Regions from separate parts of the Homo sapiens genome. Here all the other regions are linked to region 4. The links are contacts of gene promoters, found by promoter capture Hi-C in human tissues and cell types (Jung and others, 2019). All regions are on one chromosome and are shown on one strand. The core of a region is centred on a gene start or on the middle of the fragment in contact, and the rest is flanking DNA. Distances in the headings are between cores, read along the strand shown. Region 1 overlaps NEK9 (NIMA related kinase 9). Region 2 overlaps RPS6KL1 (ribosomal protein S6 kinase like 1). Region 3 holds the start of EIF2B2 (eukaryotic translation initiation factor 2B subunit beta). Region 4 holds the start of LTBP2 (latent transforming growth factor beta binding protein 2).

Region 1 (7,655 bases), core at 4,566-7,065, 500 kb before region 4:
AATATATATTCCCCACACGGAGATTCTCTCATAATGTATATGAAAAATGCAAATGTAAGATAATGCAAATTCATTGCCCTTTCATAAGACCTATTCATTTTTCTAAATCCTGAAGGTTGTTCTAGTATATCATCTAATTCTCCTAAATAGTATGGTGGAAGAAAAATGACTTGGAGTCAGAGGCTGGGCGCGGTGGCTCATGCCTGTGATCCCAGCACTTTGGGAGGCTGAGGCGGACAGATCACCTGAGGTCAGGAGTTCGAGACCAGCCTGGCCAACATGGTGAAACCCTGTCTCTACTAAAAAATACAAAAATTATCCAGGCATGGTGGCGCATGCCCGTAATCCCAGCTACTCAGGAGGCTGAGGCACAAGCATCACTTGAACCCAGGAGACAGAGGTTGTAGTGAGTGGAGATCGTGTCACTGCACTCCAGCCTGGGTGACAGAGTGAGACTCTGTCTTAAGAAATGTGTGTGTGTGTACGCACACACGTGTGCATATATGTACACACACGTGTATATATGTGCACACACGTGTGTGTACATGTACACATGCACATATACATATATACACATATATGTGTGTGTATATGTATGTGTGTATATATGTGTATATATGTATATGACTTGGAGTCAGGCTTTGGTTGGAATTATAGCTCCATTTTTACTATCTGTGATTTTGGGCAAGTTACTTTACATCTCTGAGCCCCATTTTTCTCATATATAAATTGATAATGATAATAATTTCCTTGAATGGTGTTAGTGAGGCTAAAAAATATCATATATGTAATGTGCCTGTCTAGTTTGTAGTAGTCTCTCAATAATGTGGTGGTGGTATTACCATAATATTGTTAGTATTATCATCTTATTATTATTACTGCCTTATCTGTTGCAGCAGAGTATTGCCTGTACAGCCACAATTAGGATATATAAATTAGGACGCAAGTTAGTTGGCAAGGGAACTACATGAAGCCAACAAGGATGGCTAATCTTGCTTTCCTTTTTCTTGGGATTCAGTTGAAAGGTCAGATTATAATATACTCTGAGCATCATATTATTGGCCACATAGTTATAGATTGTATGGCCAGTTGGCTTCATTCTGTCTGATAGCATCAGTGCATCCCTAACCATTTTTTTTTGATGCATACTAGTAGTTATAACAAGAAGTCAGACCTATTGCCAATTCTTTAAATAATGGTCACAGACACCTGAGAGCCCCTACCAGTAGAGTATAGCATCATCTTTATATAACCAGGAACAATGCAGTCATCATTTTCTCATAGAACCCACTTAACCTGTGTGTGAAGATCGTGCAAGGAATTCGGGCCATGGAAGTTGACTCTAGCCAGTACTCTTTGGAATTGATCCAAATGGTTCATTCGTGCCTTGACCAGGTAGGTGTGACTTAAACATTCACTTCAGTTTCGTATTTCCCCTTCCAGCCTCAGTGTTTGGTGTATGGCATAGCTATAAACCATACAAAACCACATCCACTTCCCCAGGGTAGAGTGTATTTGTGGCTATACCCAGAATAGGTATTGGTAATTCATTATAGTTGTGTGCTTCAGTGAACAAATTCTTACTTCATTCTGTTTTGTAAGTGTTAGTTTGTGAAATGAATTTCCCATCTAAATTGTGCTCGATTTTTTATGACCAAGAGTAATTTCTGAATATAGATTTCAAAAAACTGCAATGAAAGATAATTTACCACTTCTAATACAGAATGTCTGTATTTCTCATATCTCATGGTTCCCTTGCTGTGTAGTTCTAGTATTATTCAAAGTATGTTTCATGAAACACTGGAGTCAGAATCACCAGGGAATGGGGGAGTTTTGTAAGTAAAAAGAAGATTCCTGGGCCCCACCCCAGACGAACTCAATCAGAATCTCTGTGGATAAAGCCCAGAAATCTTTATTTGTAACAAACACCTCAGGTAATTCTTCTGTTCTGTATATATTGAGGTTCAAGAGCCACTGCCCTAACTGAACAAGTGAGGAAGATGCATTATAAACATTCTCCTTCATGTACAAGTGTTGATTATAATGAGGTGAGAAGCATAAAATATGGAGTATCACATAAGAAATGATTTTTAAAACAAAAGGATAATGCAGTGGTCTTTGACTAATTAACATCTTTAGATCCGATGTCGCCCATTTCCATTAAGTGAAAACTAACCCTATTTTTACTTTTTAGGATCCTGAGCAGAGACCTACTGCAGATGAACTTCTAGATCGCCCTCTTCTCAGGAAACGCAGGAGGTAAATTATGAAGAAGTCACTCCATTGTCTTTTCTGAGATAGTTGACTTTTAGAGGCTTGATCAGAGTACTAAAAGAAAGAGTAGTGTTTCCTGACTTGGTTGCAATAGTGCTATTTTCTACCAACATCCCTGCTTTTATTGCTTAGGGGTGGCATCTGACTTTTGCCTCCTTAGCCTGTGCTGTTTTGTTGTAAATTTGTACTAATGAGGCCCAAGAGCCCTTCACTCCCCAACCCATTGGTTTTAAACCTTAGAGTTGAGGCATTAGAGTGCAGTAAGGAAGAGGGGTGTCTGGACTCAGACATCCTTATGTTTGTATCTGAATTTTGTCATTATCTTTGTCAAGTTATTTAACATCGTTATTTCTTGGCTTTCTCCTCTATAAAGTAAGATGAGGTCAGGATTAAAGAAGATAACGCATAAAAAGTGGTCAGCCCAGGGCCTGGCATAGGGTGCCTATCAATTGTAGTGTGAGTTGGACTGGTCCTTTGGTTTTTTTGTTTTTTGTTTGTTTTCTGAGACAGAGTCTCACTCTGTCACCCAGGCTAGAGTGCAGTGGCACAGTCCTAGCTCACTGCAGCCTTGAACTTCTGCTGCAAGTGATTCTCACACCTCAGCCTCCCAGGTAGCTAGGACTACAGGTGTGCACCATCATGCCTGGCTAATTTTTCTATTTTTATAGAGACGGGGTCTCACTGTGTTGCCCAGGCTGATCTCAAAGCTGTTGCCTAAGCAATCCTCCTGCCTCAGCCTCCCAAAGTGTTGGGATTACAGGCATGAGACACTATGCCCAGCCTGAGCCTTTGTTTTTCACTGCATTTGTTTAGGTGGTAGGTTGGAGTTGGAGGAATCCTCTTCAGGTACATTTTGCCCATATTTGAAGTCGAGTTTTATTGACTCCTCAGAGGTTATTTCCTGAGATTATTCTGTCAGATATCTTTAGAGATAGGAAGAACATCCTTTATCCCTCTGTTCCTCTAGGAGGTTTCATACCTTAATTTAAAACATTTATCTTCGTTAAATATTTGAGTCTGTATTTCATCCTATTACACTATTTTTGCCTTGCTACGCTTCTTCCTCCACTACCAGTTTTTTGTTTTTATATCTTCCAAATATTCACATACAATGCTCTTTTCAAGTCTTGCTCTTGGATACATTCTGTACATCCCTAATTGCATATTTGCTGTTTCATCAGTACTTTTATTCTACTATGCCATTTAATTAATCTTTTCTGGTTCTTCTCTAGTTGGTCTGTAGCCAGTGTTTTAGTGCCTGAAATTATGTACAGTACTCCAGATACAGCACCATGACCTTCCATTTATGTTTTGTGCACGTGCAGGCAGTATCACCCTTTTGGTCTGGTGAAGCATATTTAAAATTTTTGTCTGGCTTATTTCACAGCAATATAATGATTTATTTTATTTTATTTTATTTACTTTTATTTACTTTATGAGAGTCTCACTCTGTTGCCCAGGCTGGAGTGCAGTGGCGTAGTCTCAGCTCACTGTAACCTCCACCTGCCAGGTTTAAGCAGTTCTCCTGCCTTAGCCTCTCGGGTAGCTGGGACTACAGGCAGGCGCCACCACGCCTGGCTAGTTTTTGTATTTTTAGTAGAGACAAGGTTTTACTACGTTGGCCAGGCTAGTCTCGAACTCCTGACCTCAGGTGATCTGCCTGCATCGGCCTCCCAAAGTACTGGGATTACAGGCATGAGCCACCACACACGGCATAATCACTATTTTAAGTCACTATTTTAATCTCTTATTTCTTGAGTGTAGGCATGAAATTTTTACTGAGATAATTATAGATTTGCCTGCAATACTTTGTTGGAACTTTGTACTTTGATGGAAAACATAAGACAGAGTTTTCCAGACAGAGAATATAGCATAAACAAAATCATAGACACAGGAAGTTGTGGAAAATATTCAGGAAACACAAAATTCTATTTGGCTAGATTAGTGGTTCTAGACCTGGGATTTTTGATGCAAAATATCAGGAGCTTTCAAAAAGTACTGATGCCTGAGCACTACTCTAGGAGCTCAGCTATAATTGATTTAGGTAGGATGACAGCCCTGGGCTAGAACGTGGGGTGCAAACAAAAGGAAGGAAGTCTGGAAAAATAGGTAGGAAATCTTGCATGCCAGGCCAAGAAAATTGTGGTTAATTCAAGAGGTAGTGCAAAAGATAGAGTGGGTATCACATCCACTGTTGAGAGATGGTGGATGTTTGCGAGAGGGCAGTTCACGTGATGAGAGGCATACCTAAGGAAGAGTTATTTGGCAATATTAGTATCTGTGTTAAATTAGTATAGTAAAATGATTAAGACTGTAGTAAGTGAGGCTGATTAGGAGGTATTATCACAGTACAGGTGGGAAGTAGAGCTACCCAGAACTAAGGTGGTGAGACTGGAAAGGAAGAGGTGAGTACAAAAAGTACTATATAGGTAGAATCTGTAGAACCTGAATATTAAAGAAAGGGAGAGAGATGAATCAGAGATGACTGAGGTTTTAAGCCCAGTTGACTGGGAGAATTGGGGAAGGGTGTTGCGGCTAGTTACAGAAATAGAGGAGTCAGAAAGAAAAGCTCATTTGGGAAAAAGCTAACAAGCTCATATTTGGAGATACTGAGTTTGGGAGTCAGTGGGCAGACTAGATGAAGGTGTCCATCAGATACTAAATATGTACATCAGAGGTTCTCAAGGCTCTCTGTTCCAGCCTGGACCATTTCTCAGAGACAGAAAGCAAATGGCCCCAAACTGCTGGCCTTTGGGTATTTAATGAATTGTCTAATGAAAGGACTATATAACTGTTTTGAGTTGTATTGAGGTACTTTGCTAAAAGTATTGTGATGTTGTAGGATGCATACAGTTTATAAGAGGATTAAATCTGTGAAATGTATTAAACAGACACCTTTGCAATATAAAAACCTATTATTTCACTCATGTATCTTTGCTTTTCTTTTGGTAGAGAGATGGAGGAAAAAGTCACTCTGCTTAATGCACCTACAAAGAGACCAAGGTAATGTTCAAGAGACTCTTAAAAACTAATATATCCGAAATTACAACCAGGGGGTTCTTTCTTGAGTGTAGGCATTATTTGATCCGAGGATACTTTGGCATCCTTTCAGGAGCCAGCATCTGCTTAAATGTCAGACAGTCATTTCTAAGAAGAAAGCTATAATTTCACCCTCACACTAAAGTGGCCATCATTACCATGATGAATGTGGAAAAGTGTAGGTGTTATGGGTCAGACTGGAATCTGATCTGGCCAAGCTGTGATGAAGCCCTGAGGCAGGAATTGCAAAGTCTGCTGTGATAGAGCACATTGAAACAAGTTGTCGAGAAAGAACATACTTTCTCATACCATAATTGGCAGTTCTTCTCAGGGAACAGACTGGAAGCATTTTTCTTTGATATTGTTTTTAATGTTAAATGTTCCTTTGTTCTGGGGGTTGTTGGCAGGTCAAGCACTGTGACTGAAGCACCCATTGCTGTAGTAACATCACGAACCAGTGAAGTCTATGTTTGGGGTGGTGGAAAATCCACCCCCCAGAAACTGGATGTTATCAAGAGTGGCTGTAGTGCCCGGCAGGTCTGTGCAGGGAATACCCACTTTGCTGTGGTCACAGTGGAGAAGGAACTGTACACTTGGGTGGTAAGTGAACGCTAAGCATTTTGGAACAGTGCTGTAAGCCTAATTGTTTACTGGGCCCACGATGTCTAAGCATTTTATTAGTTGAACCTATACTAAGGGAGTGGCAACATGGGGTGATGGAATGGAAGCTCTTATAAGAGCAGGGATTTTGTCTGTTTAGTTCACTGATGTATGCCCAGGGCTGGTACATATTAGGTCACCTATAAATGTTTTTTGAATGAATGAATGAGAGAGGGAGAGAAAAATTGAAAGACTCAGGAGACTGGGGTTTCCCATTTACAGCTGGATGATTTCAGACAAGTCACTCAATTACTCTGTTATATTACCATGAGGTTCAGAGCAACTATTACCTGTGAAATAGCTTTGTAAACAAAGGAAGGACTATACCATGTCAGGAAACCCCTGAAGCCCACAGCAGTGATTGAAGATGGCTAGGTATATTTTGTGTAGAATTTGTTTGTTGCCCTCTAGATTCTCCCCTCTCACCTTCCTTAACAAATTGTCTGTGTTTGCTGTCTGTTTCCTTATCTCCCACTCTCTCTTCATTCACCTACAATGCAGCTTCCATCTCTGCCACTGCCACTCAATTGAAACTAGTCTTGACAAAATGACCCATAAATTGCTAAAATAAAACAGATGCTTTTTAGTCCTTACCTAGCTTGACCTCTCGGCAGCATTTGACATAGTTGACCACTCCCTCCTTCTTGAAGCTTTGTCTTTACTTGCCTTCTGTGATAGCATGTTCTCTTGGCTTTCCTCCTGTCTCTTGCTATGCGTTCTCAGGCTCATTTCAGGCTGCTGGAGAGAAATTAGTATCTTAAACATTTATTGGCTGGGCGTAGTGGCTCACAACTGAAGTCTCAGCACTTCGGGAGGCCAAGGCGAGTGGATTGTTTGAGGCCAGGAGTTTGAGACCAGCCTGGCAAACATGACAAAACCCCATCTCTACTAAAAATACAAAAGTTAGCTGAGAGTGGTGGCGCATGCCTGTGATTCCAGCTACTCAGGAGGCTGAGGCATGAGAATCACTTGAGCCTGGGAGGTGGAGATTGCAATGAACCAAGATTGCACCACTGCACTGCAGCCTGAGTGACAGAGCAAGACCTTGTCTCAAAAAAAAAAATATATATATATACTGTCACACACACACACACACACACACACACACACGCACACGCACACACATATATATATAAAATATGAGGACTTGTAGTATACTCATTTAATAGAATTATTTTTCTCTATAAAACTGTTGAAAAGGCCAGACATGGTGGCTTACACCTGTAATCTCAAAACTTTGGGAGGCCGAGGCGAGTGGATCACCTGAGGTCAGGAGTTCGAGACCAGCCTGGCCAACATGGCAAAACCCCATCTTTACTAAACATACAAAAAATTAGCCAGGCGTGGTGGCGGGCACCTGTAATCCCTGCTACTTGGGAGGCTGAGGCAGGAGAATCGCTTGAACCCAGGAGGCAGAGCTTGCAGTGAGCTGAGATCGAGCCACTGCGCTCCAGCCTGGGTGACAAGAGCGAAACTCTGTCTCAAAAAAAAAAAAAAAAGTTGAAAAGTCATCAAGGACTAGTCTCATTGCTGTATAGCAGCCTCTTTGATGTAGCCAGATTCTTTATAACTCTTCCATGTTTCAGGGAAACTGTGACCAAAATTTATGAAACTTCTAGTACAGATTTTCAAGAAGCTATATTCCTGTAGAAAGCAACAAAGTTAGACTATATTATAAAGAA
Region 2 (7,542 bases), core at 3,130-5,629, 300 kb before region 4:
CAGTCGTCTGCCTCCCTCACAGAGCACTTGCCATGTGTGCACATAGACATCTGCCAGCCTTGCACACCGTTCAATTTACACGCTTATGTGTGTCCACACTCAGAGCCTCCTGATTCTGTCTCTTGTGAACCGGCATGCAATTTGGAGCAGACCCCGACACCCTTGTGTGCACACACACATATCTGTGTGCATGTATGTGCACACACACAGTCCCCACATGGCTTTCTCTAAACCAGTAAGTGTTCAGTGAGGGTGGAAAATGCACGCACGCTTCTTACCCCACGGTTGCGCGTACTCACGCAGCCCTCCTTGGCTCACTGCATCCTGTACGGCTGCCTTTCCCCAAAGTAGGTGCTTGGTCTTCAAGGCACGTTCCCTGAGACTCACACGTTCCCAGGTTACTTCCCTATCCCCACCTTGGGAGCATCTGCATCTTTTGAGATGGAGTCTCGCTTTGTCACCCAGGCTGGAGTGCAGTGGCGTGATCTTGGCTCACTGCAACCTCCGCCTCCCAGGTTCAAGCGATTCTCCTGCCTCAGCCTCCCAAGTAGCTGGAGTTACAGGCAGGCGCCACCATGCTCGGCTAATTTTTGTATTTTAGTAGAGATAGGGTTTCACCATGTTGGCCAGGCTGATCTCAAACTCCTGACCTCAAGTGATCTGCCCGCCTCGGCCTCCCAAAGTGTTGGGATTACAGGCGTGAGCCACTGCGCCTGGCCTAGATGGGGCTTTTGAGAGGGGGCTTCTGAAGCCCAGAGAACTTCATGGGCCTTGGACGGGCTCAGCAGAGAGGTCGGCCTGACCACCCTGGACCAGTATGGGTGCCTATCGGTAAAGGCCAGCTTTTCCACCCAGCCTGCCACTGTGGGGTGGGGCCTGCCTATACCCCTGCCCTCCCAGCTGTTCTCCTTGCATCCAGAAGCCCCTGCCTGATGCCTGGTGAGAAGGCCATGGCCAAGGAGGGCTCGGCCCTGAGGCTGTGTGTGGCCTGTCTCCCTCCTCTGCAGGGTTTCAGCAGCCTGAGGCTCCGGCCCATTCGCACGCTGAGCTCTGCCGTGGAGCAGCTGAGGGGCTGCAGGGTGGTCGGGGTCATCGAGAAGGTGAGTGAGTGGACACTCGCCTTGCAGGAGGGAGACAGTGTATGCAATTTGGGGTGGCGGTGGGGAGAGAGACATGATATGCTGAAAGCAGGTCTGTAGCAGTGGCCCCCACTCCTCCAGAGGAGGTGGGCAGGGGTCAGTGGGGAGTGCGAGTGCAGTTGTTTCCAGCAGTTCCCACCTCTCCCCCATCCCTAACACGCATGACTTTGGTCCTGGGTCCTGGGGAGGAAAATGCAGGGAACGGGAAGAGGCTGATTGGCCAGCCACAGTGGCTCACACCTGGAATCCCAGCACTTTGGGCCAAGCACCAGGCCAAGGCAAGAGGACTGCTTGAGCCCAGGAGTTAGAGGCCAACCAGGGCAACATAGCAAGACCCCATCTCAAATAAAATAAAATATAAAATAAAATAAAATAAAATATAAAAAGAAGAGGCAGACAGGCCCTTTCCACAGCCCTGCAGCTCAGATCCAGAAAACCTGCTCCTTGGGAGAGTTGGGACAGAAACTGCAGGAGGAGCGAGGAGCTATGCCCAGGGCACCCTGCCAGTCCTCGAGGCCCTGCTCACTCCCACTTCCCGCTTCCCACAGCACCCCCACCACACTCACCCTGAACCCCAGGGCTGCAGCCAAGACGCTCTACCGAGCACAGCTGGGGACTTCCTGCGGCTGGGACGTGCTCAACTCCAGAAACCTGTCCAGAGAGGGCCCGTTCTGGCCCGTCCTTGCCCAGGGCCTTGGCAAGTCTGCCCTTTTTTTCCTCTCCTGACCTAACTGTAACTTTACCCTGTCCCAATGCTATCTCGCATGCTTTGCCTTATTCAGGGCAGACAAGAAGATAGGAGGCGACGTCCCAACCCTTACTCGGGGCACTCATTGTTAGAGTGCTTCTGATTAGAAGGACAGACAATGAGGTCAAATCAGAGTCCAGCCAGTATGAGGTTCCCCTCTTCCCCTGAACCCTGGAATAGTCACCCAAGAAGTTCTTTACCAAGCTGGCTAAATGGAGAGCTTCCTAAAAATACAGATGCCCAAGAATCTGTTATTTAACATACTCACTGGGTGATTTTGGTAGATCTGGGGGCCCACAGAGAAAAGGAGACAGTCCTGTACTTCCCACAGGCAAGAGGATGACATGCTGCCTGAGGGAAGGCCCCGCGCTGGGCACCACCCCGGGTGGCCACGGGCAAGCCCCCTGCTCTCTGAGCTGTGGTTTCTTCCTCTGGAAAGTGAGATGAGAATTCTCCCCCAATGGGGTGATCTGGGAGGTAAAACAAAACAATTTTGGGGAAAGACCTGGCACATGCTGTGACACTGAGTACGTGCTTGATGGCTCTAAATACAAGTGACAGGAGTGAGCTGGGAGGCACGCAGGCTTCTGCTCCCGGGCCTTACTCCAGCTGCTTCTCCTGGGTCCCTGGGGCAGGTCCCAGACTGTCAGCGCAGGCCCTGCCAGCTTCCATCTGCCACGGTCCCCTCCCCACTGCTTGAGTGTCAGTGGCCACGACCCAACCTTGGCTGAGCACAGCCGTTCCCAGGGACTGGCCGGGAGGTGACTGACACCGTGCCTCCCGGTACGATCCCGCTGAACCATAGGTGTTGTGGTGAGAGGGGTTCTGAGCTGAGTATGATAGGAAAACAGCGAGTTGAAGTTATATGGCTTTGTTTCTTAATGATCGGAGTTCTTAGAGTGTTTAGGTGCAGATGTACACTGTGACACAGAATTCCCCAAACTTGTTTAGCCTCAGGAAAGTGGTTTAGGAATCCAGTGTTTCGAGGCCCCTGCAGATGGAAAGCACAAATTAAAGCCAAGCCCAACCATTTTTTTTTTTTCTTGACACAGGGTCTCGCTCTGTAGCTCAGGCTGGAGTGCAGTGGCGTGATCTCGGCTCACTGCAGCCTCGACCTACCAGGCTCAAGCAATCCTCGCACCTCAGCCTCCTGAGTAGCTGGGACCACAGTCTCAAGCCCTGCTATTGTCTTCTATTTTTTGTAGAGAGATCTCGCTGTGTTGCCCAGGCTGGTCTCGAACTCCTTGCCTCAGGTGATCCTCCACCTCCGTTTAGGCCTCCCAAAGCACTTGGGATTACAGGCGTGAGCCAGTGGCCCGCCGCATTCTATTTCAGGACTACCCTTCTTTTTTTTCTTTTTTATCCTGTCTTGGGTACTCAACTTAAGGACTTCACCTCCCTCCTGAGATCCTACTTCCTTTCCCTGTGTCATGCCCAAGCCAGGAGCATCACTTTCCTCAAATTAGGAAAGGTGTTACTGCCCCTGGGCCTGGGTCCCTGCAGCCAGACTTGGATATACTGTCACCCTTGTTCCATTCCACAGCTGTGCCCAGACAGATCTGGGCAAGTGGGCAGTGCCAGCCAGCAGCAACCCTCAGGCCCAGGGAGGAAGCAAAGGGCTTGCTCGGGATGATGCTTGAGTGACCCCTAACGTGTCCGGCTGTTAGGATAACTAAGGGCTGAAGAGATGGTGGCAGGGAGCAGTGAGGTGGGTGGGTCGGGACTTGGCAAGCAGCCAGAATACCCGAGGGCCTGGCCTCAGAGCCTGGGGGCCAGGGAGACATCACCGGGTATTTGCTGAGCCTCGTGCAGGAGCCAGGCTCTGAGACAGGGTGGAGGAAGAAAAAGAAGGTCATCCAAGTCACTTCTTCTTTTATTTGGCTTAAACACAGGGGTGTTTTTTTTGTTGTTTGTTTTTTGGGTTTTTTTAGTTGTTACCAACATTTGAAAATGTGCAGATTCTTATAAAAGTCCAGATTTCCTGCTTCTCTTGAAAAAATCAGATCTGGAAACGCTGGCCTCCCATTCCCCTGTGGCAGCAGGGAGTGGAGGAGGAGATGCCTGCCTTAGACGGGGCACCAGCCCTCCTTTCTGCGCCTCCACCCTGCCTATTTGCTCACATGCCTGGCCCCTGTGGACCTTTGAGTTTAAGAACTTGTTTGAAACCTTTAGGCTTGTTTGTTCCATGGGAGAGTCCTCCTGGGATTTTGATACTTTGTGCATCTTTAAAGAAAAGGTTTACCGTGTTTCACCAAAGCTTTAATTGTCCCTCTGTCCCAAGAATTCAGTGGGTCTCTTTATTTAAAACAATTGCTCTTTTTTAAAAGGTGAGAGAAAGCACTCAGAACTGCCTTCCATCTTCCCAAATGGAAGGCTCACCCGACAGTTGTATGGAACCTTCTCATTTACAGAGCTGTGGCATTAAATCCTCACAGTCACCATGGGGGAACGAAGCCTTATAGGGTGCTGTTCAACACAGTAGTCACTAGGCACATAAGCCTCTGTGCATTCATATTCATTAAAATGAAGTCATCTGTGTCTCAGTTGCACCAGTCACATTTCAAGTGCTCAATGGCCCCATGTGGCTACTGGCTTCCATATTGGACAGTGCAGACATATAATCCTGCCATCATGATAAGAAGTTCAATTGGACAGTGCTGCATTTTAATACTTGTCCTACAGAGAATTAAACTGAGGTTCAAAGAAGTCAGCGGGGCTGGGCGCAGCGGCTCACACCCATAATCCCAACACTTTGGGGAGCCAAGGTGGGTGGATCACCTGAGGTCAGGAGTTCAAGACCAGCCTGACCAACATGGTGAAACCCCGTCTCTACTGAAAATACAAAATTAGCTGGGTGTGGTGGCACATGCCTGGAATCCCAACTACTTGGGAGGCTGAGGCAGGAGAATCGCTTGAACTTGGGAGGCAGAGATTGCAGTGAGCTGAGATCACACCATTGCACTCCAGCCTGGGCAACAACAGTGAAACTCCGTCTCAAAAAAATAAATAATAAACAAAGAAGTCAAGGCACTAGACAGTCCTCCATCCTCCAAACCACTGAGTAAAAGGAGTTTCTTGTTTGGTTGGATGAATGGGAAAATGCCTGCTGCTTTGCTGCCCTTTTGAAATATAATGAAAGAAAAAGGAGAAGAAAAAGAAAATCCCCTGAATCCTGCCGAACTCCAAGATAATCACTGTTAATGTTTTAGTCTAATTATTTCTGAATACTGAGGTTGGTTTTAATATGTTTTTAACAGAAATCTTTCAGTGTATGGATCAAGGTTTATTTCTGGCCTCCTCAGCCTTCCCTCCTTCGCTAGTTTTTTTGGACTCTGTCAGTTACAGGCCCTTGCCCAGGACCAGGTGGTGGGGAATCCCACTTGGCAAGGGACAGTGGGGAATTATCTGGGGTGTCAGGATTTGTGGGAAACTCTGTTCTCCTAAATGACTCCAGAGTTTTCTTCCTTGCTTTTTCTAACATTGCACAAGTTTGGTCAGGGAGCCAAGCCCAGGCTGGACTCGGTCTCTGGCTGTTGGAGGAGAGACCTCTGGTGGTTGGAGAGGACACCTCGCTCCTGCTGAGAAAAGGGTCCTGGGCGCTCTCATCTAGTCCACTGCCTTCCTTTCACTGATGATGGAGAAACAGGCTCAGGAGGGAAGGCCATTGCCAGGGTCACCTGGTTGTGCCCCCAGTTCCAGTAAAGTCTGCAGGGCTCCGGGATCAGCCTGTCTGGGTTCAGGTCCTGACTTGACCACTTTTTAGCAGTGGGACAGTAGGCAACATAACCTCTCTGAGGCTCAGGCCTGAATTTTGGCAGGATTGTGGGGATAAAATTAAACAACCTATGTAAAGTGCTTAGCACAGAGTAACCACTTTACAGCCAGGGTGGGCTTCCCCTCGGATGACACTGGTAATAATCACGACAGGTTATCAAGGGTGTGTTCTGCGGCAGGTGCAGGCTGCTGCTCTGCCTGAATTGCCTGCTTTAACAGAATCCTCTTCAGGACCCCCTGAAGGAAGTGCTGCTATGACCCCGTTTTGTACTTAAAAAGAGCAAGGTTCAGAGAGGCCATGTGACTTGGCAGATGTGATCACTGACATTCTCACAGCCTTTCCACTCACCAAGGGCTTTCTTGGTTTTTTGTTTTTTGTTGTTTTGTTTTGTTTTTGAGATGGAGTCTGTCTCTGTTGCCCAGACTAGAGTGCAGTGGCTTGATCTAGGCTCACTGCAACTCTGCCTCCTGAGTTCAAGTGATTATCCTACTTCAGCTTCCCAGGTAGCTGGGATTACAGGCGGGCACCACTATGCCCAGCTAATTTTTGTATTTTTAGTAGAGACGAGGTTTCACCATGTTGGCCAGGCTGGTCTTGAACTCCTGACCTCAGGTGATCCACCCGCCTTGGCCTCCCAAATTACAGGGATTACAGGCATAAGCCACCACACCTGGCCCTCACCAAGGGCTTTCAGAATGGCTTCAACAATCCAGAGATGTAGGGAAGGTAGGCATTTGGAATTCCTGGTTGGTAGATGAGAAAATCAATTCAATTTGCCCAGGATCGAAGCCCAGTGCCCCTTCCCCTACCCTGATCCCAAGCTGTGGCCTTCCTCACTGCCCAGCAGCCTGGCCTCAGGGCCCAGTTCCCACCCCGACCATGGCTGGCCACAGCCTCCCTGGGGAATGTCCGCAGGGCAGGCCAACAGCCAAGGAGTCACAACCCCAGGGTGCTGGCCTTGCCTCCACATGCCCTCACCTGGGCTGAATCCTCTGCCTTCCCGCCCTCGACGTACCCATGTGCCCGCTCCTATGCTGGGGCCCGCCCCTGCCCACCATGCAGATGAGTCAAGGGCCCAACTCCAAACATGGCCCTGACCTTGCGATTGACAGCGTCTGCCTCTAATGGAAACCAACACAAGAAGGAGAGGCTGCTCTCCAAAGACGGCCTCTCAAGCGGACTTTACTTATTTATTTTAAATTTTTATTTGCAGTCAGGAGTACATGTGCAGGTTTTTCACATAGATAAACTTGTGTCATGGGGGTGTGTGTAAATGAAGGGGGTGGAGTGGAGTGGGAAAAAGGCCTGAACGCAGCGTGCCAAGCCCACACAACATGGCTGCGCTGGGGAGACCTGGAGTCACCTCAGAGCTGCGGCTTCCTCAGTTGTAAAACAAGAGATCAGAGGAAGTGACTGGCTCTGAGGTCCCTTCCAGCCATGACACCTCAGACCCTGCAGGATGTTGGGGCTCTAGCTAAGGCCTTGGGTGAGGGGTTGATCTCTGGAGGTCCAGTTGGAACAGGGCTTCTCAGTTGATCTCTGGGGTCCAGGTGGAACAGGGCTTCTCAGCTGATCTCTGGGGTCCAGGTGGAACAGGGCTTCTCAGCCCTCCCGTCAGGTGGCATGAGGCCTGGCCCAGCGTGGGCAGGGAGAGGGCAGGGCATTCTGCTCGCATGCCCACCACGCACACAGTGAGCCAAGGCCCGGGCTGCTCACAGTGCATGTGTCTAGCACCTACTACATCCCTGCACTGTGCAGGGCTCCGGGAATACTGAGCTCACAGTCCAGTGGGAGACAGATTAGACAGTGTGAAGAGGCTCTCCTAAGGGTGAACTAAGAGAGCATTGGAGGCAGATTAGGGACCCCAGCCCCTGTAATCT
Region 3 (7,834 bases), core at 112-2,611, 390 kb before region 4:
TTCAGCCAAGGAATGGCAATCTGGGAAATCCTAAAGTGCTGAGAATAGGGTAAAGAGAGCTTCGGCCTAAAAGAAGTCTTCCTCCAAAAGGTGGCCACAACACTTCTACATGAGAGAGACTGGCCAGAGAAGAAAAAATGGGGGAGCAATTTGGAAGCAGCTTCTTCATCCTCTGATTACAATGAATATCTGCAAGTCACTTGGACCGCAATGACAAGGGGGATAGAAATGGTATACGTGTACGTGTGTATAAAAATTCAGATAGTGAAGGAGGTCTATCGACCTTGGCTCTCTAGGGAGTTCATTTTGTTTCTTTACAATGAAAATAAAACTCTGTCCTAATAGAGTCTGTTCCACTCCACAGATCTGTAGTCTATCAAGGGTTGGTCTGTAAGGAAAAGTAGAGAGGATTACTTTGGTCCTGTCACCTGTTGCAACATTTCCTAATCAGGAAGGAGGACAAACCTCTGAGAACCAGAAGACAGCTAATCTCCCATCTCTGCTAATGAACAACCTTCAGAGGCTTCTGTTCCCTTATGTGCCTGTGACCAGTCCCATTTTCCCAGCGATCAGGCCTCTTACCCAGCTCCACTAGCAGCTCATTAATCGCCTCAATGATGTTGGACTGGAGTTGGGCATAATGGAAGCTGAAATCCTCGTTTAGGCCTCCGGATGTCAACAGTTTGTGCAGGGACTCCTGCTGATCACTCTCGTCGCTGCGTCCATGGAGTCTATAGAGGCAACAAGACCCAAAGAGAGAGGTGGGGAGGAGTGGTCAGGCAGGTAACAAGGGCTGTTCAGCTCCAATAAAGTCTCCGAGCAGGTAGAGGGGCCCGTGCAAAAAGTGTCACTGGATCCAACCAGGAGCCCAGGACGTGAGCCTGACCTGCCATACTCCTCCCGGATAATCTTGAGCACTCTCCGCACCATGTTGCCCACGGTGGTCTCGGAGGGCTGAGCGGCCGTCATCCTCCTGCCCTCTCTGCGGATCAGCTCCATCAGCTCCCCTACAGTCCAAAAGAGAGAGGATAAGAGGAGCCAACGCGAAGTGAGGCCTGGGAAATTTTCAGCCCTGGGATCGGGAACAGACAGGGGCCAGGTTCGCCGGCGGAGGCAGGCCGGCCTCACCCGCGTTGCTCCAGCGGTGGTCCGTGATGATCTGGCGCAGCAACCCTAGGGTCTCCCGAGCCATTTCCTCGGAGCTGCGCGGCCCACCACCCCGCTTCAGGGTCTCCACGAAGCTCTCGATCCTCTCTGACAACTCCGAGCCCTTCGCTGCGGATCCCGGCATCTTTAAGGTAGCTGCCTTCAGCCTTCACCGGCGGAATCCACACCTGCCAGACCACACAGTTTGCACTTCCGGGGCGGGCGAGGTCGGCTTCCGCTGTGAGGGGATGGGGGGAAACCTCAAGTTTGAGTGGAAGCCGGCTACGCCCTTCGTTGCCGATCTCCCGCCCCCTTCCTCTGCCTGAGCCAATCAGAGACGTGGGGCTCGGGTTGTTCAGTTATAACCGGGCGTCCGCGCGCCCCCGCGCCTCGGGGGCTGGAGGATCGGAAGCGGCCTTTCTTGGCTCAGCCGACGGTGAACGGAAGTAACCCGTCAGGCCTGTAGAGGGTGGCTGGTCCCGTTGCTATGGGAGCAGCAAGTCTCTACGCGCCCCTCACCGCGACTTAAGGCTACACTGAAGAAGTTGCGGCACTCCCTCCTGTCTTCCCAGCTCGGTGACTGCCCGAGCTGTCACTCCCGAGTGTCAGCTGACACTGACGCTCTGAATGCATGTCCAGGGTCGGCTGCCCCTTGGGCAGACGTCTCACTTTTGTTCTGTTACATTGCTTGGTACCGTTTGCGCCTGTGTCTAGGAGGTTCATGTCTCTGAAAACAAGGACGATATCTTTTGTTGCTTTTGTATTCTCAAGGCCTAACACGTCTAACAGAAGACGGCGAAATTAGAGATGAGGAAGATTAAGGAGATTCAAAGTGGGAGCCAATACAGAAGCAAAGATGACATCCTCTGATTTGGACAGAATTGTCCTCCTACAGAGAGGCCAGAGAGTATAACATAATACCAAGAGTTACCATTTACTTAAAGCTTACTGGTTCTTGGGCACTGTGTGTGAATTGTCTCAGTTAATAAGGTCTGAAATAGGTCCTCTTATCCCCATTTTACAGATTGGGAAACAGACCCACAGAATTTAAGCAGTTAATAAAGGATTGGGTTCATACTTAAATCCAGGTCTACCTGAACCCAAAGTATGTGTGTAATAGAAATCTCTATTTCCTTAAGATAAATTCTTCAAAGTGGAATCCATAGGCGAGCACATTTTAGACTTTTGTTACAATTAACAAATTGCCCTCCAAAAAGATTATGTCAATACCAAAGTTAGCCAAAGGTAGTACAAAGAAAAGAAAATTACAGATTAATATCTCTCATGAACATAGAAGCAAAAATTGCAACAAATTATTAGCACATCAAATCCTGCAATACATAAAAAAAGAATAATATGTAATTACAAAGTGAAACATAAACCTGGAATGCAAAGCTGATTAAACACTTAAAAATCAATGTAATATGCCATATTAACAATCTGAGAAGTAAAACCACATGATCATGTCAATTGATGCAGGAAGAAACATTTGACAAAATTCAATATTCATGGTACAAACTCTCAGAAAACTAGAACAAAAGGGAACTTCCTGAACTCGATAAAGGGTATCTACAAAATCCTACACCTAAAAATCATACTTCACAGTAAAAGATTGCTTTCTCCCTAAGATCAGGACAAGGCAAGGATGTCTACTTTCACCACTCCTATTTAAATTATACGTGAAGTCCTAGCCCTTGCAATAAGGCAAGAAAAAGAAAAAGCATACAGAATGGAAAGAAACTGTCCCTGTTCACAGAAGACATGATAGTGTACACAGAAAATCCCAGAGTCAACAGCAACAAAAACAAAACCTCCTAGAACATAAGTTTAGCAAGGATACAAAAACTATATTTCTATGTATTAGCAATGAGCATCAGAAATTGAAGTTGAAAATACAGTTGCTCTAAAAAGCCATAAAATATGTGTCAATTTTGCTGTGTTTTAGTTTTTATTTATTGATTTGTTTGTTTATTTTGAGACAGGGTCTCACACTGTTGCCCAGGCTGGAGTGCAGTGGCATGCTCACTGCTCACTGCAGCCTCAACCTCCCCTGGCTCAAATAATCCTCCCACCTCAGCCTTTTGAGTAGCTGGGACTACAGGCACACACCACCATGCCTGGCTAATTGTGTGTTAATTTTTAAATGTCTTTAAAATTGTATCAATTTACATGCTGGCTAGCATTTACCATATTATAGCCAATTTTGGATATTGTCGTTATTTTTTCATATATCAAGTCATTAAGAAAATAAGGTATATAGGCCAGGCATAGTGGCTCATGCCTGTAATCCCAGCACTTGGGGAGGCCAAGGTGGGCAGATCACCTGAAAGTCAGGAGTTTGGGACCAGCCTGGCCAACGTGGGTAAACCCTGTCTCTACTGAAAATACAAAAATTAGTGGGGGGTGGTGGCATATGTCTGTAGTCCCAGCTACTAGGGAGGCTGAGGCAGGAGAATAGCTTGAACCTGGGAGGTGGAGGTTGCAGTGAGCTGAGATTGTGTCACTGCACTCCAGCCTGGGTGACAGAGCAAGACTGTGTCTCAAAAACAAACAACAACAACAGCAACAAAAAAAACAAGGTATATAGTATTTTATATATACTAAAGAATTTATATGTGTGTGTATGCAAGTTATAAAGCATGACGACAAACAGGTTGAGGAATGTGAACCAATCCCTCACTTTGAAACTAAAATATTCGAATTAATAGAGATAGAAAGCAAAGCTGTGTTGGCCAGGCACAGTAGCTCACACCCGAATCCCAGCACTTTGGGAGGACAAGGTGGGAGGATGGCTTGAGCCCAAGAGTTGAAACCAGCCCTGGCAACATATCAAGACCCCCAGCTGTACAAAAAATTTAAAAATTAGCTAGGTGTGGTAATGCATGTCTGTAGTCCCAACTACTTGGGAGGCTGAGGGGGGAGGATCTCTTGAGCCTGGGAGGTCGAGGCTGCAGTGAGCTATGTATGATCCTGCAGTGAGCTATGATCCTGCCACTGCACCCCAGCTTGGGCAGCAGGGCAAGACCCTGTCTCAAAAAAGATAAAGGAAAGAAAGAAAGTAGAACTGTGATTGCCAGGGTCTGAGGGGAGGGAGAGAGTTGCTGTTTAATGGCTACAGAGTTTTAGTTTTGCAAGTTGAGAAGAGTTCTAGAGATAGATGGTGGATAATGGTTGTGCATTTATTTATTTATTTATTTATTTATTTTTTGAGACAGGGTCTCACTCTGTCACCCAGGCTGGAGTGCAGTGGCACGATCTCAGCTCACTGCAAGCTCCGCCTCCCAGGTTCACGCCATTCTCCTGCCTCAGCCTCCCCAGTAGCTGGGACTACAGGTGCCTGCCACCACGCCCGGCTAATTTTTTTGTATTTTTAGTAGAGACGGGGTTTCACCATGTTAGCCAGGATGGTCTCTATCTGACCTCGTGATCCGCCTGCCTCGGCCTCCCAAAGTGCTGGGATTACAGGCGTGAGCCACTGCACCCGGCCTGGTTGTGCATTTATATTTCACAACAATGTGAATGTACTTCATGCCAGTTTAGTTTCACTAAACTGTACACTTAAAAAGGTTAAGATGGTAAAATTTATGTTCCGTGTTATTTTACAATTTAGGAAATATGTGGTATATTTCACTTTTTTCTGCTCAATATGACATTCATAAAATTTATCCATGTTGTTACATGTACTTGTTATTCTCTTATTTGCACTGGTGAATTTGTACTGGTAAGAACTTGTAGTTCTCTTATTTGCACTAATATTTCATGTGACTGTAGCATAATTTATGTATTCATTTTTTTCAACAGATATTTGGGTTGTTTCCAATCTTTTTAGGGGGGTGGGTGAACATAAACTATAAATAGTCCTGTGTATGTCTTGGCACTTATATAAGTGGAACAGCTAGATCAGAGGCTATACGAATGTTCAACTTTACAAATAGATCTAGTAGTACAAAGTGGTTCAATTAATGTATGCTCCCTCCAGCAATATTTAAAGACTTTCAGCTGACCTACATCCTTACTGACATGTGTTATTACCAAACATCTTATTATTTGGGAATCAGGTAGGTATAAAAGTATATTTTACTGTGGTCTTAATTTGCATTTTCCTGATTACTGTTCATATTTTCATGTGTTTGTTGGCCATGAGTTTTTTGTGAATTGTTTGTTGTGCCTTTTACCTACTGTTTTTGGCTTAAAAATTTTTCCAAGTAGATTTGTAAGAGTTCTTTTTATATTCTAGATACTAATCTTCTTTCAATTATTTATTATATAAATAAGTGTCTTCTCCCAATTATGGCTTGTCTTCTTTACTTTGAGATGTCTTTGAACAGAATTCTTGATTTTAATGTGTTAAAATGTATCAACCTTGTCTTTTTTACATAATGCCTTTTCTGTCTTATTTCAGAAATTCAGCCAAGTGCAGTGGATTTGCCAGGTGTTGGGATTACATACCTATAATCCCAACAATTTGGGAGGCCAAGGTAGGAGGATCACTTGAAGCGAGGAGTTCTAGACAAGTCTGGGAAAAATAGCATGATGCCATCTCTACAAGAAATTTTTTAAATTAGCCAAGTACAGTGGCAGCTACTATGTGCCTGTAGTGCCAGCTACTTGGGAGGCAGAGGTGAGAGGTTTGCTTGAGCCTAGGAGTTTGAATTTGCAGTGAGCTGTGATAGCACCACTGCAATCCAGCCTAAGCAACAGAGTGAGACTTCAACTCAAAAAAATAAAAAAATTTAAAAATCCATCCAGGTGCAGTGGCTCACGCCTGTAATCCCAATACTTTGGGAGGCCAAGGTGGGAAGATCACTTGAGCTCCAAAGCTTGAGACCAACCTGGGTAACAGAGCAAGACCTTGTCTCTACAAAAAAAAATTTTTTTTTAATTAGCCAGGAATGGTGGCTCACACCTCTGGTCCCAGCTACTTGGGATGCTGAAGTGGGAGGATCTCTTGAGCCTGGGAAGTCAAGGCTGAAGTGAGCCGTGATCATACTACTGCTCTCCAGCCTGAGTGGCAGAGTGAGTCCTTGTCTGAAAACAAACAAACAAACAAACAAAAAAACAGAAGACATTCTTCCCTAATCCACAATTATAAATATAATCTCCTATATTTTCTTCTGATTACTAAAACATTTATCTTTACATATAATTGGAATTGGAATTACATATAATTTGGAATTGCTTTTTATGTAAGGTGAGAGGTGTGAATCCAATTTTATTTTTCCATTCTTTCTCCAGTGATTTTTAATGTCACCACTGTCATATGTCAAGTTTCTATAATATGTGAGTCTGTTTGGTGGCTATTTGGTTTCATTGCTGAATTTGCCTATTTCTGAATCAATATGATATTATCTTAACAATTGTCTTTTTTTTTTTTTTTTTTAAGATAGGGCCTCACTCTATTGCCCAGGCTGGAGTGCAGTGGCGCCATCACAGCTCACTGAAGCCTTGACCTCCCAGGCTCAGGTGATTGATCCTCCCACCTCAGCCTCCCCAGTAATTGGGATTTACAGACACAAGCCTTTTGTATTTTTTGTAGAGATTAGGTTTTGCCAGGTTGCCCAGGCTGGTCTTGAACTTCTGGGATCAAGCTATCCACCCCCCTTGGCCTCCCAAAATGCTGGGATTATAGGCATGAGCCACTGCACCCAGCAACTATTGTTTTATTGAAAAGTTTTTATCTCTGGTAAGAAATTTTTTCTTGCTTAATTCTTTTCTTTAAAAATTACTTAACTAGTTTTGAGCCTTTGCATTTTTATTTTATATTTTATTTTATTATTATTATTGTATTTATTTATTTATTTTTTGAGACAGAGTCTTGATCTGTCGCCAGGCTGGAGTGCAGTGGCGTGATCTTGGCTCACTGCAGCCTCCGACTCCCTGGTTCAAGCAATTCTCCTGCCTCAGCCTCCCGAGTAGCTGGGATTACAGGCATGTGCCACCGCACCCAGCTAATTTTTGTATTTTTAGTAGAGATGGGGTTTCACCATGTTGGCCAGGATGGTCTTCATCTCCTGACCTCATGATCTGCCCTCCTTGGCCTCCCAAAGTGCTGGGATTACAGGTGTGAGCCACTGCACCTGGCCTATTTTTTATTATTATTATTTTTTGAGATGGAGTCTCACTCTCTTGCCCAGGCTGGAGTGCAATGGCAAAATCGCAGTATGATCCATCCACTCCAGCCTCCCAAAGTGCTGGAATTACAGGCGTGAGCCACCATGCCTGGCCAATATTTTATTTTATTTTCTAGTGACAGGGTCTCATTCTGTTGCTCAAGCTGGAATGCAATGGTGCAATCTTGGCTCACTACAGCCTTGACCTCCTGGGCTCAAGCAATCCTCCTGCCTCAGCCTCCCATGTAGCTGGGACTCTAGGTGTGTGCCACCATGCCCAGCGAATTTTTTTATTTTTTGTAGAGACAAGGTTTCACTATGTTTCTGGGCTGGTCTTGAACTCCTGGCCTCAAGTGATCCTGTCTCAGCCTCCCAAAATACTTGGATTACAGGCATGGGCTAGTGGCTCAGCCACTTCCATATATATTTTAGAAACAGCATTGCTGAAACGTATTTAAATTAAAAACTTTATTGATATTTTGGTTGGAATTGCTTTAAATCTATTAATCAATTTGAAGAGAATTGACAACTTTAAGACAATAAGATACCAAGTCTTTCCATGAACATGGTATATATTT
Region 4 (7,458 bases), core at 4,807-7,306:
GCGCAGCCACCTACTGGCTTGTGACTGTGGATGAGTCATTTACTTCCCCGAGCCTTCATTTCCTCATCTGCTATGTGGGGAAATAATAGCACTTCCTTCATCAATAGCGCTTCTCATTAAACAAGGAAGTGACTATAAGATGACTTGGCACAGTGCCTGGTACCTTCTGAGTGCTCAAGAAATACCAAGGCTGGATGTGGTGGCTCACACCTATAATCCCAACACTTTAGGAGGCCGAGACGGGAGGATCACTTGAGTCCAGGGGTTCAAGACCAGCCTGGGCAAAATGGCAAAACCCCGTCTCTACAAAAAATACAAATTAGCCAGGCTTGGTGGCGTGCACCTACAGTCCCAGCTACTTGGGGGGCTGAAGCTGGAGGATTGCTTGAACCCAGGAGGTGGATGCTGCAGTGAGCCGAGATTGTGCCACTGCACTCCAGCCTGGGTGACAGAGTGAGACCCTGTCTCAAACAAACAAACAAACAATAAATGAAATATCAGTTGGTAAATGGAGGAGTAGTAATTGACACCTGCCCCTAGCCCCATGACAGGGTAAACAGGGCTGGCTAGCTAGTTTGTCCTGAAGAGAAAAATGGCAAAAAGAACATCATTATCTCAACTTTCAGATAAGAAAGTAGAAGCCAAATGAAGCTCAGAACTGTGCTGCATTCACAGAAGACGGAAATGAGCTCAGAACTGTGCTCCGCTCACAGAAGACGTAAATGTTCACCACATGTTTGTGGGAGGGCCCTTTCCAGCACACTCTGAAATACAGGCCAGCTCACCTTACCTTTGCAGGAACATCCATACCATGGCTATCACCACCAGCCAGCATGTCATACCCACTTGGAGGAGACAGGCACCGGCAGACCAGGGCAGGGTGGTTGTGAATTCTTGAGGGGACGCCAGGTCATGGCACCTAAGGTGGAATGGTTCTGGCAGCCTTTGCGGGCCTTAACAACCTCACACAGGAGGGAGTCGGCACCTCTCTGTACGGCCTGCACCTTCCAAACTGGAGGCTGAGGCTGCGCAGTGCTGGGGTCCCAGCTGCCCAGTGTCTGGAGCAGAACATCCAAGCCCATGAGCGGCTCCCGTCTGGAAGGCTGGGGGCCCAGTCAAACTTTCCTTCAGCGATTCTGCCCTCTGATTAACCAGGAAATGTGTTATTTGTTCTGAGCAGGGGAACAAGCTCTCCTGGGGAGAGGAATTCAGGGCTGGAGGTCCAGTTACTTCCAAGCAAGAAAAATCCCTGGAATTCTTTCAGGAGTCTGGGTCTCAGCAAAGGGGGCCGAAATGTGGCCCTTGTTTTTGGTCCTTATTTACCAAATTAGCTCAGGTTCTGGTAGACCTCTGGCTGCCAACATTATTCCAGTGAGACATGGAAAAGCAGTGAGTTTGCCCTGGGAGTCCAGGAGACTGCTGTCCCTTGCATGGGGCATGTGTCTGGGCAAACCTTTCCCTGCTGGAATCTCTTTATCAACCCTTTAGACTCTCTCTGCCGGGTTTTCCAGAGATGATTTTCCTCTCCAGACCCAAGAGATGGGTGAGTAGGCTTAGCAGCGATCTAATGAGGGAGAAGGCTTTAATCAGGGGGTGGGGAAGTGACACACGGTGAGTCAGCGGCCATGCTGAAACAGCTTCCCTTCTTTCACTGGGCCAAGAGGATTAAGGGTGGCAGAAAGTTCTGATAACTCCACATCTCCAGGTACATGAGCTCCAGGTACATGAACAGTGGGCTGGCAGGCAGGGAAGAGGGCATTTGGGGATATGCCCTAGAGCTCCTTTGGTGGTGATAGTGGTGGGGTGGTTGGAAAGGTCATGATTCAATTGTGAAGAGGGCTCCAGGCTTACAAGCCCGGGGTGGAGGCAAGGCGGTGTAACCTTAAAAGCTTGGGCTCAGGTGGAAAATGATCCAGGTTTGAATCCTGCCTCTGCTATTTATCAGCTGTGCCATCTTGGGCAAGCCAGTAGCCATTGCCAACCTCAGTTTCCTCCTTTGTATGCGTGGAAATCATAATGCCTCCTTTGGTTGGTTAAATCAGCCAATTGATGTAACATGCTTAGTATGGCGTTTGGACTAAAGTAGGCTCTATCGATTTTGGCAGGTTAAAAAAAAAAAGCAAAACTCAAGTGTTTGTGGGATTGGAGATTCTGAAGAGCTGCAATCAGTCCCAGCAGTTAGAGGGTAAGGGAGATATGGGCAGTAAGTAGGTGGCAGGACAGAGTGTGGCGCCGGGATGGGGTAGAAGATGCCAGTCTTTGGAGTAGATGAACTGGGTTATGGTCCCCAGGCGAACAGGGTGGGAACGTCCAAGGACCACTTGTACTCACTGAGGAGTGGAAGGGGCGCCCGATGGTGAGGGAAAGTTGGTCTGCGTGAGGGTTTTGGCGGAGGCGAAGGGTGAGGGATGAATGGGCGGCAGACTTCCAGAAATGCAGACGGAGGAGACGGAGCAGTAATAATGACTTGGACACACAGGAGGAAAAAATAGCTCAGGGACGAAGATGATGCCAAGGTTTCTGGCTTTTGGAGGCCCACGGGGATCTGAGGTGGGTCTTGAGGGATCTAGAGGGGAGCTTCTGAAGGAAGTGGGTAGGTTCCGGGGAGAGGAAGGGAGCCCAGAACTACAGAGGTGGGTGGATATCTGGGCAAGGAGAGGTAAGTGTGGACCTGGGGCTTCCACAGCTGTGAAGGAGCAGCATCCCAGGAACAGAACGCAGCATTCTGGGAACTAAGGGGCATTCATGGTCAAATGCAAGGGGTAGGGTTCAAGGAGATCTTTAGAGCCAGCCCCAAAGGCAGCAAGCACATGAACCTGGATCAGGAGCTGCCACCCAGAACTCAGTTCCTCTCTCTTAAAATGGGTCTAATGATACCAGCCCTCCCCACTTGATGGGATTACTGTGTCCTTCATTCAGTTAGCTATCCATTTCACACATACTTCTTGGCTGTTCTAGGTTCTGCAGAAACAGTGGTGAGCAACGCAGACAAGATATCTGTTGCTTTAGAGCTGTCATTGTGGTTTGGGAAGTCAGACAAGAAATGATTTTATAGGTTGTTGAATAGGACTTTTCCTCTGCTCTTGGAATATCTGCTGAAGCCACAAAGATAGAACAATGAGGGCTAAATATTCTTGCATTCTGAAGAGAAGTACTAGACACCTTACTAAAGGCAGAACAGGTTCAACAGCAATCAAACTACATCCCTCAATTCCAGTCTACAAATGAAAGGGATTGAAGAAAGTCACTGAAGCATAACACTGCTGCATTTGTGGGCAGGGCTGAGATTTCCCCTGAGGGAACTCCCCAACTCAAACCAAATGAAGGGAGCTCCCAGAGAGAACCAGTCATCTGCAAGAAGAGGAGGCTCTGTCCCTATAACTGTCCCCCCACTGATGCTGACTATGTTGCTGGATGTTACAGGCACCTCGGTGCATTAAACTACAGCAAGACAGTTCATGGGAGAACCCAACATATGTCTTTAGGAATTGAGGACGTACATAAATGAAGAGACTTGTGTGCACTTCCTGTCTGGAGAATTCTGATCGTGGAGCCTCGCTGGAGTGGCCTGTGTGGCAAGGTGAGAAGTGGGCAGGGTGAGGAGCGGCCAACCCACCATTGTTTTGCCTGGCATAGGTGGGACAGTCCTATGAGAGACAGAGGATGCAGGGGTCTCCGAGAGGTTGGCCAGAGAGTAATTTGCTATGGCAACTCAGGGTGGAGGTCCTGTAGAGAACCTCCCAAAAACCCACATATGTGCCCATGAAAAAGCCAGCGCTTGGCACCTGCCAACCAAGGGTACCTGTCACATAAGACTTTGCTACTTTTCCTCTAACACCTCTCTCCCAGCCTTGACAAAGAGGAGCCACAGCAGAAAAGGGAGGTCAGGAAAACAGACCACACCCCACTCTCACCACTGCAGGATCTCTAGCAAAGGGACAGGGGAGAGGAGGACTATTAAATGGGATGTGATATTGATTAACTTGGATGAGATTTTGATCTGGACAGGAGCAGACTTTTTGTGTCTGAAAATGGGTCTTAATTATATTAATAGAATAGTTCTCGTGTCTGGTAGGGATGACCTCTCAAGCCAAGGACTCTGCCTGAGATGTCATTAAGGGTGGGAAAGGGAAATTTACCATAATATGGTTGAAGGTAGTAGTGGAGCAGTTTCTGGATAGTCCCTCTTTAGGTTCAGCCCATTAAAAAATTCAGTTACACGAGCAAACAAATCAATAACAAGATGATGTCAACTGTTTTATGAAGATGAAACAGGGTGGTGTGTTAGAGTCATGACTGGGGTGAGGGAGGGCTGCTCTAGATTGGAGGTCAGGGATGGCTACTCCAGGAGCTGATATTTAATCTGAGAGGAGCAGTGATGAGGAACTACCCTCTAACATCCTGGAGAGGAACCTTCCAGTAGAGGGAAGGGGGCATTCACTTGGCTTGTTCAAGGAGCAGAGAGAGGGCCAAGGCAGCACAGTGTGGTGGGTAAGGGAGAGCAAGAGGCCAGATGAAATCAGAGCGGGGGCAGCCAGCTAGGGTTTGTAGGCCAAGGCCAGGGGTCGAGGCTTTATTTCAACAGTAGATATTACCTGGGCTTGTCTTTTGTGTGGTGTGGGAGGTTGTGAACTGGTGCCCACATGCCAGCTCCTTCACTCTGCCTCTCTGGGAAATAGGCTGTACAAATGTGCCAGGGGCAGCCCTGTTGATCCAAGCCTTTAGGCTGTAGGGAGGGAGCATGGGTGAGAATGGTGTGCTGATTACTGGGGACACGCAGACAGCGGCAGTCAGCATTCCCACACCCCTGCCCGCCTCCCTGCTAACACAAGATGTGAATGCACACACTGGGTCAATCGGGGTCACCGAATCCCCCTCTGGGAAATTCCCGAGAGAGTGAAGGGCTGGGTGGGATCCCGGGAATGGATTCAGCCAGAGGCGGGAGGCCTAGATTCCACTCCCCTCTTTCACATGCGCTATCTCCTTGAGTGACTTACTCAAGAGGCTCCGTGTCTTTGCCTCGGTGAAAAAGAGGACCCCTTGGCCGGGCGTGGTGGCTCACGCCTTTAATCCCAGCACTTTGGGAGGCCGAGGCGGGCGGATCACCTGAGGTTGGGAGTTCGAGACCAGCCTGACCAACATGGAGAAACCCCGTCTGTACTAAAAAATAAAATAATATACAAAATTAGTCAGACTTGGTGGCGCATGCCTGTAATCCCAGCTACTAGGGAGGCTGAGGCAGGGGAATCGCTTGAACCCGGGAGGCGGAGGTTGCGGGGAGCTGAGATCGCACCATTGCACTCCAGCCTGGGCAACAAGAGCGAAACTCCGTCTCAAAAAAAAGAAAGAAAGAAAGAAAGAAAAGAAAAAGAAAAAGAAAAAGAGGACCCCTCTTCTACCGGCAGCCATCACCGCGCCAGGCTCAGGCGTGACCCTCACGCCAGTGGAAGGGGATTGAGATCCAGAGCGAAGGCGGCGGCGCCAGGGCATTGCAGCCACGGAGCGCCAGGGCCGCCAGCTCCGCCAGGGGGCGCGCCCGGGACCTCCCTGCGCTCCGCGCGCCGCGCCCCGCCCCGCGCCACCCCCGCTCCGGCCGGCCCTGCGGAGGGCGCCCCCAGCGGCCAGGGCGCAAGCGGAGGGGGCGGCGGCCCTGTTCCCCTACGCGGGCCTCGGCGCCCCTCCCGGCTTCCTTCAGACCTGCAAGGCTGCAGCCTGGGTCCCCCGATCCAAAGACGGTCCCTGAGGCGAGGGGCGGGAGAACGATTCGGGGCAGGTCTGCAGTTCGAACTTGCCCAGAGCAGGAGAAAGGCGGCCCAGTGTCCCGGTCGTGGCAGGCGCCATCTGCCCGACCAGCGCCTGGGTCAGCCCCGCGCCGCCCCCTGCTCCGCACGGGTTAATCCCCCTCGCCGCCCGCTCGCCGCCCGCTGGCTTCCCGGTGCCAAAGTGGGTGTTGCTGGAATTCCTCGCTCCCTCTCCGGTAATGAGGGGGCTGAGCTGTCCCTCCGAGGAGGGGGCCTGGTGTGGATAAAAGAGACGAAAAAGCCGGGGGAGGTTTCCAAAAATAAAACCGTCCGGGTCCCCTTCAGACGGCTGCAGGCACAGGGAGGAGGCGCGAAGGTGCAGCAGCCGTGCGAGCCCAGCTGGAGTAGGAGCGCGGACTCGAGGCTCGGGGCGCGCAGCCCTCGTTCCGCCGAGAGCCGGGCCCCCAGTCGGCCGCTTCAGGGCCCCCTAGACTCAGAGAAGCTGGCCGCCGGGCGGGGCCGGGAGAACAGCCCGCGGGCGTCCAGCGTGCCGACCACAAAGCTCTTCGCGGTGCCCGCGCGCACCACTCTCCAGCCGCCCCGCGCCATGAGGCCGCGGACCAAAGCCCGCAGCCCGGGGCGCGCCCTGCGGAACCCCTGGAGAGGCTTCCTGCCGCTCACCCTGGCTCTCTTCGTGGGCGCGGGTCATGCCCAAAGGGACCCCGTAGGGAGATACGAGCCGGCTGGTGGAGACGCGAATCGACTGCGGCGCCCTGGGGGCAGCTACCCGGCAGCGGCTGCAGCCAAGGTGTACAGTCTGTTCCGGGAGCAGGACGCGCCTGTCGCGGGCTTGCAGCCCGTGGAGCGGGCCCAGCCGGGCTGGGGGAGCCCCAGGAGGCCCACCGAGGCGGAGGCCAGGAGGCCGTCCCGCGCGCAGCAGTCGCGGCGTGTCCAGCCACCTGCGCAGACCCGGAGAAGCACTCCCCTGGGCCAGCAGCAACCAGCACCCCGGACCCGGGCCGCGCCGGCTCTCCCACGCCTGGGGACCCCACAGCGGTCTGGGGCTGCGCCCCCAACCCCGCCGCGAGGGCGGCTCACGGGGTGAGCATGGGAGAGGGAAGTTTGGAGGGTACAGAGGGGAGCCAGGGCTCATTTGTGGAGGGGCGTGCAGGCGAGAGGAGAGGGCGCCGCTCTCATACCCTCGTCCCTCTGTCTTTAGTACTTCGGGAAACAGCCCCGAGGTTCCAAAATCGGGATTGGAAGATTTGATCCGCTTTCGAAGAGTTGAAGGCAGATAGATCATCATCCTCATCCTTTCTTACCAACTCTCCCGGAGCCCCGACGTTAAATCCTTTCGCAAGGCGCCTCTCCACTCGCCCGCGTTCCTCCTGCCTGCAACTAACGAGCTCTTGTAGACTCTTGCAGCGCTGCCGGGATCTGAGAGGCAGCGGGGAGAGGGCAGGAGGGTGGGCGCTCCAGGCTCTTGACGCCCAGGGGAGGTTGAGCTGGCTCAGAGCGCGGGTTGGCGGAGGTGTCGGGGGCCCCATGGAGAGAAGGTAGATGCGTCTCCAGGAGGGGAGCCGGCAGCGAAGCTGGTGCGTCGGGACAAGTGTCGTGGGGCGTGGGTCGGCCTGCGCACGCTGAGGGCTGGATGCGGGCGTGGGCGTGAGCTCTGGGTACTTTGGGCGGGAAGCGTGTCCTGATGAGGCTGCGACAC

What was found. Contacts are between HindIII fragments. The study calls those that stand out against the background at their distance.
Region 1: a fragment that was not itself captured here is called in contact with the fragment with the promoter of LTBP2 in region 4 in 1 of the 25 tissues and cell types used here (lymphoblastoid cells).
Region 2: a fragment that was not itself captured here is called in contact with the fragment with the promoter of LTBP2 in region 4 in 1 of the 25 tissues and cell types used here (lymphoblastoid cells).
Region 3: the fragment with the promoter of EIF2B2 here is called in contact with the fragment with the promoter of LTBP2 in region 4 in 1 of the 25 tissues and cell types used here (adrenal gland).

What each region holds. Positions count from the first base shown.
Region 1 is chr14:75,107,943-75,115,597 of GRCh38, reverse strand. NEK9 (NIMA related kinase 9) reads left to right here. Exons shown (of 22, transcript NM_033116.6): 7 at 1,285-1,395; 8 at 2,195-2,259; 9 at 5,227-5,277; 10 at 5,721-5,913. Among named protein-coding and RNA genes, the nearest start is that of NEK9, 15 kb to the left of the region's middle. The HindIII fragment of the contact is 5,660 bases long and covers 2,986-7,655 here.
Region 2 is chr14:74,912,071-74,919,612 of GRCh38, reverse strand. RPS6KL1 (ribosomal protein S6 kinase like 1) reads left to right here. Exons shown (of 12, transcript NM_031464.5): 5 at 1,008-1,100. Among named protein-coding and RNA genes, the nearest start is that of RPS6KL1, 7.4 kb to the left of the region's middle. The HindIII fragment of the contact is 7,214 bases long and covers 773-7,542 here.
Region 3 is chr14:74,996,448-75,004,281 of GRCh38, reverse strand. It overlaps EIF2B2 (eukaryotic translation initiation factor 2B subunit beta), which reads right to left and starts at 1,361. Exons shown (of 8, transcript NM_014239.4): 1 at 1,129-1,361; 2 at 887-1,007; 3 at 583-731. The coding sequence starts at 1,291. RefSeq lists enhancers at 1,003-1,683, 1,725-1,814. The HindIII fragment of the contact is 11,364 bases long and covers 1-4,028 here.
Region 4 is chr14:74,610,835-74,618,292 of GRCh38, reverse strand. LTBP2 (latent transforming growth factor beta binding protein 2) reads left to right here and starts at 6,056. Exons shown (of 36, transcript NM_000428.3): 1 at 6,056-6,842. The coding sequence starts at 6,349. It overlaps LOC101928352 (a long non-coding RNA gene), which reads right to left and starts at 5,108. Exons shown (of 2, transcript XR_944029.4): 1 at 4,998-5,108; 2 at 4,245-4,726. RefSeq lists enhancers at 1-764, 5,373-6,000 and a silencer at 5,426-5,745. The HindIII fragment of the contact is 13,991 bases long and covers 1-7,458 here.